Linked DNA regions of Homo sapiens: regions 2 and 3 are each linked to region 1. The links are contacts of gene promoters, found by promoter capture Hi-C in blood cells and fetal thymus (Javierre and others, 2016). All regions are on one chromosome and are shown on one strand. The core of a region is centred on a gene start or on the middle of the fragment in contact, and the rest is flanking DNA. Distances in the headings are between cores, read along the strand shown.

Region 1 (3,138 bases), core at 347-2,846:
TGTGATGTACAAAACTAAGATAAATTTGTGTTGTTTTGAGCCAAGTTTGTGGTAATTTGTTACGGCAGCAACTGAAAACTAATACAGTATTAAAGAATTTGAAAAACACAATCCTTTTGAATCTACCCTAAAGATTTGGTGATAAAAACAGGCAGTTACATTATGGCACATACCACAATAAAATTTTAGCCATTAAAGTAAATCTTTCAAGAATGTATACACATGGATCAATATTCCTAGTATACGGACAAGGCAAGGTTAAAATTAGATATTGTGTTAGTCCATTCCTAAAAATAACCCTGGAGGGAAAGACATTCAAACATTGTATGTCCTTAATTCTAGATGGTGAAAATATAAGATTAATCTCCTATTTTCCAATTTTTCTAGAGATCGAAAATAATCAAAAGGAAAAAATGATGGAAAAATGGAATTCTCAGTTCATTTGAAGAATACAGATTAGCAATTAAAAAATACAGCAGTATCTCAGGAAATAAACATTATTCTCATTTTACAAAAAAGTGTATGTGAACTTTAAAAAAATCTACACTACAATATGAATTGATATTATCTCTGGGTAGAATGCTAACAATTTTATTTTCTCCTTTACTGTATTCACTAAATGTTTCACATTAAATGTTGTATTACCTTTGAAATCAGAAGATACATTGTCTAAAACTGATACATCAAGAAATAGTTGTATAAGCATATTACCTAAACACAGAGGTTACCAACAGAAATTAAAAGTGGTTAAAAATGACTCCTGGGGAACTGTAAGAAGAGGAAGGTGAAGGGAAGAAATGGTTGCTTTCCATTCTAAATCTTCACACAATCTATTCTTAAAATCAGACAAGGCTGTGGTAAATTTTTTCAATTATTAAAAAAAATTATTTCTTCTAATAGGAATAGGCCTTTGAGAACCCTATTAATTGTAATAGGTTTCAATTCAGTTAGTCACTCAAGTATTATAAAATGCAACTGGATTTACAGAAATAATTTCCTACCTACACTGACAGTATATTTAAACTAAAAAAAAAGCATACAATGTACAAACAAATTTATTTACAAAAATTACAATTACAAACTGTACAAATTGAGACAATTTCCCATGCCTCCAACAGAAGCCAAGAGCCTTTACTGTCAAATGGCAGTTTTTGTTACTTTTAAATGACACACAAAAAGAAATATGATGCCTATTCAGTCATCCACTGCCAGTTTAAAAATGCTTTTCTAAATAATTCCAAGAAGCCTATTAGTGATATGTATATGGATAATTTCCCTCAACTCTATTTCTAGAATGGCTATGTACAAATCCAGCAAAACTGGAACAGAACAGGGTAAGAAAGCACATAGCAACTGCTTTTTCAACAGTAAATTTTGACTATTCCCCTAAATATCTACCTAGTGGCTTAAAACTAAAACTATGGTCTTTGGCTTTAAAAAGAAAGTCAAAAAATTTTGACTTTTAATGACTGCACAATTCTACCAAAGCCAGTGTTTACCTGGGTATTTTTTGTCACCTGTAGTTTACATTTCCCTGCTACTGTTAAAGAAACAGAATTCTACAGTATTCAATTCTGTATATTGTCTTTTAAGGTTTTTCAATCAGACTCACTACTACTGCTTGAGGAGTCCGTTGACATAATCTCTACATCATCTTCATTTTCTTTATTATGCCCAGGAGGTTCCAACAAAAAGTCACTACTATGATTTGGTGGTAACATATTCATCGACATGTCATTTGACTGCCATGGATACTGTGGAGCAAGGACATCTGGAGAAAAAAAGAAGCATAGATAAGAACAGCTCTATCTGTAATTAATCTAGTTCTTACTTTTCCCTTTATGCAACAATTTGAAGTATTTTTTTTAATTTTACTTTTTTCTCTTCTTTTTTTGACACAGGGTCTCATTCTGTCACCCAGGCTTGAGTGCAGTGGCACGAATACATCACTGAAGCCCTGACCTAGGCTCAAGCAATCCTCCTGCCTCAGCCTCCTGAGTAACTGGGTTACAGGTATGTGCCACCATGCTTGAGTACTTTTTAAAGTTTTTGTAGAGATGAGGTCTCACTATGTTAACCAGGCTGGTCTCCAACTCCTGGGCTCAAGCTATCCTGCTACCTCAGCCTCCCAAAGTGTTGGGATTACAGGCATAAGCTATTGTGCCAATTTTTTTAAGACTAGGAAAAAAATACACATTTAGCCAAATTAATAAAAATCAAATTTATCAAGGAAAAGTTGATATTTTAGCAACTGGGGACTTTTTTAAAAAAATCATACTACTCTGTAAGAAACTATTTAGTCAGTTGACATAATTTTTCTTTTGTAAGACATTTGTAATTACAAATTTTTCCTGTATCTATGTATCTATTATATGCATATATAATACATACTTATGTATACTAGGTTATGTAGATTATTCTACATATTATAAACAAGTAATAGGTACTTTAGTATTATAATAGATTTGAATGATTTCTTGATAGAGGAACTGCTATTGTAAGTGACTCTCATCAAAGAGAGGTTGATTAGCAATGTATGCATATGAAATACCTTAAAAAAGGGCCCAAGTTACATTTAAAGTCTGTATTTCTGAAGCAAAGGGACAGAGCACATAAACAGGTATAGTTCAAGACTCAAATAAAGAAGGCAGATTTTTAAAGGGTCAAAAGAAAGAGTTATGGTATTAACTAGAAAGGTATGCCAGTTAGCCTCAAATCTACCCTTCTCTCTGGCCCCTGAAACCATTTCTCCTTTGCCAGCTGCCACAATTAAGTTTTGTCAGTAGAGGGCACAGGTGGGACTCCACTAGCAAACAAGTTTCACTTCCTGGATCAGGTGGTTTTGTCTCCTTTACTGCTGTGATGCCTGGTTGGTGTGCAGGACATTAAGTGGTGTTCACCACAGCAACTTTCGGTGGCGCCTCTAAAGGTGGTTTCCTAGCAGGTTTCACCAGAATCCCAAAGGGCAGCTTCCCAGCAAGTCTCCCTGGAACCCCAGTGGGTAATTTCCTGCTTGCCAGCTCTGGCCTCTGATGCCTCATCTAACTTCTCTGCCATGGAGTGGGCCACATTACACTGCACCCTCTCCAATGACAGCACCATGATATGAGAGTATCGGCCTTGGGATGGAGCTGGGGA
Region 2 (3,138 bases), core at 450-2,949, 500 kb after region 1:
TTTTTTTTTGGTTTGTTTTTTGAGACAGGGTCTCACGCCATCACCCAGGCTGGAGTGCAGTGGCACAATCATGGCTCACTGCAGCCTTGGCCTGCTGGCCTCGAGCAACCCTCCCATCTCAGCCTCCCAAGTAGCTGGGATTACAGGTACATGCCACCATGCCTGGCTAATTTTTAAATTTTTCATAGAGACAAGGTCTCCCTATATTGCCCAGGCTGGTCTTGAACTTCCGGGCTCAAGTGATCCTCTTGCCTCAGCCTCTCAAAATACTGGAATTACAGGCATGAGCCCTGACACCCAACCACAAGCAGGTTTCTAAAGGCAAAAGGGAACAAGGAATAGGCTGATACAAAGTTGTTTGGCAGGAATTCTCACTGGCTTAAAGAAGTAATATTGATTCATGATTGGCTATACCTTGTTGAGCTATAGGGTAAGAGCTATGGTATCTAGCATATGGCATTGTTAGGTTAATGTATGGCCACTTGGTGTCAGTCAGTCTTGAGCCCACATAGCAAGTGGCTTCAAGAGGTGATTACTTAGCTCAAGGCAGGGAATGAGACATAATTGCTGTCACATTTCAATGCCTCTTTGGGCCTGATAATTTAAAATGGCTCACATTCTTCAGATAAAGTTTCTTTTCTTTCTCAATGAGATTTTGTTTTTTTTTGTTTTTAACTCAACAATCATGTATTGAGCCTGTCCGGGGCCAGTCTGGGCCAGTCCAGAGAGTGAGAATAGCAGTCAGTAGGTTAAGAACACAGGTTTCTAGTTCAACAGACCTTGACTCAGTCCCATCCTATCTTATTAGCGGTGGGACCTTTGCAGCTCCATGGGAGGATACTGGGGGAAGCCACTGTATTCCTCCCCTGCCTGTCTCCAGGCTTAGCAGCAGCCAGAGAGCCTGTTCTCTGAAAACGCTGCCTGGCACACTTGTTCCTGATGCTGGGATCCCTTTACAGGAAGCATAACCCTTTATTTTAGTTCAAATTAAACAAATACTCAAATGCCCTGGTGGAAGCAGTTAACACCCACAAGTTAAAACTTGCCTGAAGACAATTTCTGCAGCCAGAAATAACGTGCAGACACTTAGCTGGGGGTAGGAGCTGAACACCACAGGGAGGAGACACGAAGTTGGAAAAGAGGAACTGAGAGCCTCAGAGTCAAAATTCATTACTTCATGCTTTTTCTTTCGACCTGATCTCCCTTCCCTTTCTTATTTTTGAGAGAAAGTTTCAATTCCTGTTACAGCTGAATTCACCGGGAAGTATGGGTAATTTGTCTCCATACTTAACCTGCGCTTTAAGTGTAAAATTTTGGCCATTTATTTAAGGCCTGGAAAGAATTTACCAACTATAAGAAAATCATGTGACTTTCTTGGTGAAATGGCATCAGAAGATTTCCGGGGACCAAAGAGCACCATAACCAGGTGTAGCTGGAGTCAGGCCATTTTGTGTCAGCCAGTGCCAAAGTCCTTCCAGGTGGTGGCTGCTCTTTCTAAGGACTATTTGAACTTACAGCAATCTGATCAAGGCAGGTTTTAGAGTTTCAGGAATGCTGGTGAGCCATGTCTTGCATGTTTAACCCAAAGCTTCCCTGGAGTTGGAGACTGCACTACTTTTCATCCATCATACACTTTTTGGGCACTCGCTTGTTGGTGCTGGGCACTGTGTTAGACTCCAGAAAGACAGATAATTGTTTAGTAAAGGAAAAAAAAATGCTGTTTCTGCCCTGGAAAAATGTGCCTGACACAGAGGCCTTTTGTATTTCTGTTCTGGTCAAATAGCAACTCTCTCCTCGAGGCCATAAATGCTGAAGCTTAGACCTAGTATTTGATAGCACAACAGGGTAACTATAGTCAATAATAATTTAATTGTACATTTAAAAATAACTAAAAGAGTATAGTTGGATGGTTTGTAACACAAAGGATAAATGCTTGAGGGGATGGATACCCTACTTTCCATGATGTGATTATTATGCATTGCATGCCTGTACCCAAATATCTCATGTATCCCACAAATATATAGACCTACTATGTGCCCACAAAAATTAAAAATTAAGAATTAAAAAAAAAATGCCACAAGACAGGAGAGGTAAGTTAGCCTAGAAAGAGCTTGTTAAAAAAAAAAAAAAAATCCTTTCTTTACAGTCGAATAATATTTTAGCAATGCTGCCCTCTGCAGAGCAAAACTAGGATCGCAACTCTAGGTGGTTAAACGAACTTCCCAACACTGGTTAATTTGAAGAGAACTGGAAGATTCAATGGTCTTCCAGAGTTTTCTCACATACCCCCCTAAAATAATTGTGAATAATCATGTGCCTCCTTGCGTGTTTTTAAGTTGACATCTAAATTTGCCTTATCACCTTAATAGTTGCAAAGGATGTTCTTTCCCACACATTTTCTGAGCTTTAAATAGTTGCAGATTGAGCGTATCCAGTTTAGTTTATGAAAAACACCATCTGTATCACCTGGTGGGCAAAGCCAGCCCTCATTGTCAGACCAATCAGCTAACTTTGAATTGCTTTCTGACAGAAAAATAGTTTACTCGACTGTATTAATCACGCTGCTGATAAAGACTTATCCGAGACTGGGTAATTCTTAAAAAAAAGGAGGTTTAATGGACTCACAGTTCCATGTGGCTGGAGACGCCTCATAATCATGGTGGAAGATGAAGGAAGAGCAATGGGACGTCTTACATGGCAGCAGGCAAGAGAGAAAGAGAGCCAAACGAAAGGGGAAACCCCTATAAAAGCATCAAATGTTTGATGAAAAGACTTTGAAATTCATTGTTGAAAAGACTTATTCTGTTCAACATTGTTGAAAAGTTGTTTGAAAAGACTTATTCATTACCATGAGAACAGTATGTGGGAAACTGCCCCCATGACTCAATGATTTCCCACTGGCACCCTCCCACAACACGTGGGAATTATGGAAGCTGCAATTCAAGATGAGATTTGGGTGGAGACACAGCCAAACCATATCATTGACTGACTTAAATTCAACAGAACTGTGCTTTGGAGGACATCGTTGCGCTGCTGACTTCTAACACTGAGGTAGGTGACTAGATAGAGCTGGCGCAGGTGACCCAGGCATTGCTCCTTTAGGGGTGCCTTCTGAGAAAGCAAAAGGAGTTTTACTTT
Region 3 (3,138 bases), core at 473-2,972, 270 kb after region 1:
GAACAACTCACTTATCCTAAAGCTTTTATATAATTGATATTTCAAAATAATGTAAGATGGTATTACATGCTTTTTAGCTCTATTGTAATCTCCAGTTAAGAGTAAGTAAATAGTTCCAACTATTTAATGAACATTAATTTGACATTTCTTTTGTTTCCAACTTAATGTAATCCAAAATTACCCATAAAATGTAATATTTAGGGGTGGTATATATTGTGGGGAAAAATGTGTTCTAAAGATAATGAAAAAGTACTCTAGTGATAATGATAGCCATCAATCATTAAGAACTGACTGTATACTATATACTACGCCAAAGGCTTTATAAATATAATTTCATTTAATTGTTACAAAATGGGGTACATATTCTTATTTTGATTTTACAAAGACAGTTAAGGAACTGAAACATGAAATACAAGGTTAAAAATAATTGAATAAATAAATTGATAAAAGGAATGAATGAATAGAGCAAGGAAAGAATAAGCGAATAAGAACGTGGGCTTGTTTTTTTCAAACAAATTATATGTTATGGACTCTAGATCTCTTAACTTAGCTTCAGTGACATTGGATTATTGAAAAATGAAACTATTTTGAGGAATTGACTGACCCCTAAAGTTTCCACAATAACTTATTTAATTTTTTATCTTTCTAATACTTTTTTGCCTTATAATATAAAATTTGAATGTTTGTTATTAGTGTGAAATGAAATCCTTTCAAATATATGCCATCAGAAGGATGTGTTACAAATATACAGTATTACAAACATTTATTTTGTATGCTGAATAAGAAAAAATCAGTTATAATACAGTTTTAACATAGTATCCAGTGTGTGAATTATTTAATGAAATATTTGATCTTTATTTTTTGTTCCCAGGGAGGTTATATTCAAAAGAAAAAGGAACTGTGGGGAATCTGTATCTTTATTGCAGCAGTTGACCTAGATGAGATGTCGTTCACTTTTACTGAGCTACAGAAAAACATAGAAATCAGGTAAAGTTTCTTGTATAAATATAAGCCTCTGCCATAAAAGGAAACGAATTCTGGATTTTCCTCTCAATAGACTTTTGTGAATTAGTGAGAAATGCTAAAATAAAGTAAAACAAAAAGAACTTGGACCAAATAGTGAACTGCCATTCTCTCATGGAGCCGTTATGAAAGTGTATTTATGCTGTATTTCTTTAAGAGGTAGCAGTTTGTGTCCTGGAAAAATTTTCATTGTGTCTCTCACTATTCATGTGTAAGCTTTCTTAATTGTGGCTGTTAATAAAGTGAACAGAAAAGCAAGGATTTGTAAATAGGCTTGTTTTATATTAAAACCTTTATATAAGTAGTTTGAGTTTATCTTAAAGGTATTTAGGTAAGATTTATTAAAGCCTAAGATTGTTTTAACTAGAGGATATTATAACTAAATGCTTTTTTTCAGATTATATATTGATTTGAACATGCTACAATACTTGAACCAGTTAATTACTTAATAGGTGTTTGTTGTTGAGTTTATAAGCCTCATAAGAAGAGTTTATTAATGTGTTTTCAATAATGTATGAACTTTATCTTCAGAAAGTATCCAGGACTTCCAGTCATTTTCTTTGCAACATATTTACAAAAATGCAACAGTATGTATTTTTACCAAATAGGTAATTATGTTTCTCCTTGAACAAAGACATCTAGAATTAAACATAATTGATATTTTATTTAAACGAGATAGATTAAATTGTTGCATTTTTGAAATACTTTTTTTGCTATATCTAAATAAAATGTGGAAACAAAGGCCTTGTATATTTGTAAATATACAAAATAATAGAAATGACATAAATAGTTCATAGAGTCAATACCTGCAACACCACAGGCACTCACTGCTTCTCTCCCTTCCTTGTTTTCTTCCCTTAAGTTTCCCCTAGAAAAAAGGCTTTGTTGTAACAATTCAGTTTTCATGGTAATCTCAGGACAGGTATTGCCATATACCTCAAAAAAACTGGAACTGAGAGTAGTTCTTTAATAAATGCTATTCTGAGGCTGATTTCTTTTTCTTTGGATATATCTGCACTTTTGTTCCTTTCTCTTTTCTCTTCTAATCAACATTCTGATCTTCTATTCTTTGTCATTTCTACTCTTTCTTTATTTGCTTTTTCACATAGCTTGTCATGGCTCCCCCATTCCTTTCTGTATCATAGGAACTTTAATAACCTTTTGGTTCCCCTGCTGATTAGCTGAAGCTTTTATTTCCCCAGTGTTTGATTGGTCCAGCCCATTTTTTTGAGTGAGGGCTATAACTCATTGGTTGCTGGACAGCCTATGGATGGGTCAGGTGACTATCTTTTGTTTCAGTTAGCTGCTTTGGTATAATTCCTTATACAAAATTCATGATTAGAAATTAGCATGTGAGATGTAGTTGATGATTGCTATCTTTAATATCCTATTGGAAAATGTATATATTGATGTTTCAAATACGTTAATTTTTATGGAAAAGAGTAACGAAGAGTGATTTAAAGTTATTATTTAAACTGCTTAAATTATTTAAATCAACTTTCCTTTTCCAAAAATAATTCAATTCTAAAATCATTGGTGGGGCAAATAAAGTATGCATTTTGGTGTGTATCTCTGACAGGAGGGTGCCACAGGGCCCAGAGCAGGATGTTAGAGTCAAAGTAGGGTGAGGAGGGCATCCTTTGTGTGGGGGCAACCTGATGGGGCTGCTTTGTGTGCAGTGTCAGAGACTAAGCAGGGTGTGCAGGCAGCCGGTGCACAAGTGAGGTGAGGAGGGCAGCCTGCTGTGGGGAGTCAGAACCCTTCCACAGTGAGGAAGTGTCTATGCTAAGGGGTGGGGTAAGTCCAGAACTGGGAGTCAGTTCTGAGAAGAACAGAAAAGTGTCCACACGGGGGAGGGGGTGGCTTTGGAGATAGAAAATGGTTACTTACAGGGGGATTGATTAAATGAGTAAGTAAACTGAGGATGAATGGGTTCCAGGTTTCCCACTGTCAATGAAGAGTTACAAATATAGAAAGGGAAACACTAAAATGAAGCATATGGTTTTATATTGGAATTGGATGAATGGATGTGAACTCATGTTTTTTAAAACACATAGACAGATACAGAATAAATATACGCATATCTCTTCTTGACCCTTCGTTTTCTTATATTCT

The links. Contacts are between HindIII fragments. The CHiCAGO score rates a contact against its expected background, and 5 or more counts as called.
Region 2: a fragment that was not itself captured here is called in contact with the fragment with the promoter of MED4-AS1 in region 1 in 3 of 17 cell types (naive B cells, total CD8 T cells and total B cells); the score reaches 6.8 in naive B cells.
Region 3: a fragment that was not itself captured here is called in contact with the fragment with the promoter of MED4-AS1 in region 1 in 1 of 17 cell types (naive B cells); the score reaches 5.4 in naive B cells.

The regions. Positions count from the first base shown.
Region 1 is chr13:48,075,541-48,078,678 of GRCh38, forward strand. MED4-AS1 (MED4 antisense RNA 1) reads left to right here and starts at 1,597. Exons shown (of 3, transcript NR_046511.1): 1 at 1,597-1,811; 2 at 1,902-2,013. MED4 (mediator complex subunit 4) reads right to left here. Exons shown (of 7, transcript NM_014166.4): 7 at 184-1,771. The coding sequence ends at 1,599. The HindIII fragment of the contact is 10,244 bases long and covers 1-3,138 here.
Region 2 is chr13:48,578,216-48,581,353 of GRCh38, forward strand. All of the region lies in intron 1 of LINC01077 (long intergenic non-protein coding RNA 1077), which reads right to left. It overlaps LINC00462 (long intergenic non-protein coding RNA 462), which reads right to left and starts at 2,686. Exons shown (of 3, transcript NR_051983.1): 1 at 2,626-2,686. LOC105370202 (a long non-coding RNA gene) reads left to right here and starts at 2,976. Exons shown (of 3, transcript XR_941958.4): 1 at 2,976-3,051. RefSeq lists enhancers at 1,269-1,338, 1,359-1,408. The HindIII fragment of the contact is 227 bases long and covers 1,587-1,813 here.
Region 3 is chr13:48,341,728-48,344,865 of GRCh38, forward strand. RB1 (RB transcriptional corepressor 1) reads left to right here. Exons shown (of 27, transcript NM_000321.3): 3 at 872-987. Among named protein-coding and RNA genes, the nearest start is that of RB1, 40 kb to the left of the region's middle. The HindIII fragment of the contact is 971 bases long and covers 1,238-2,208 here.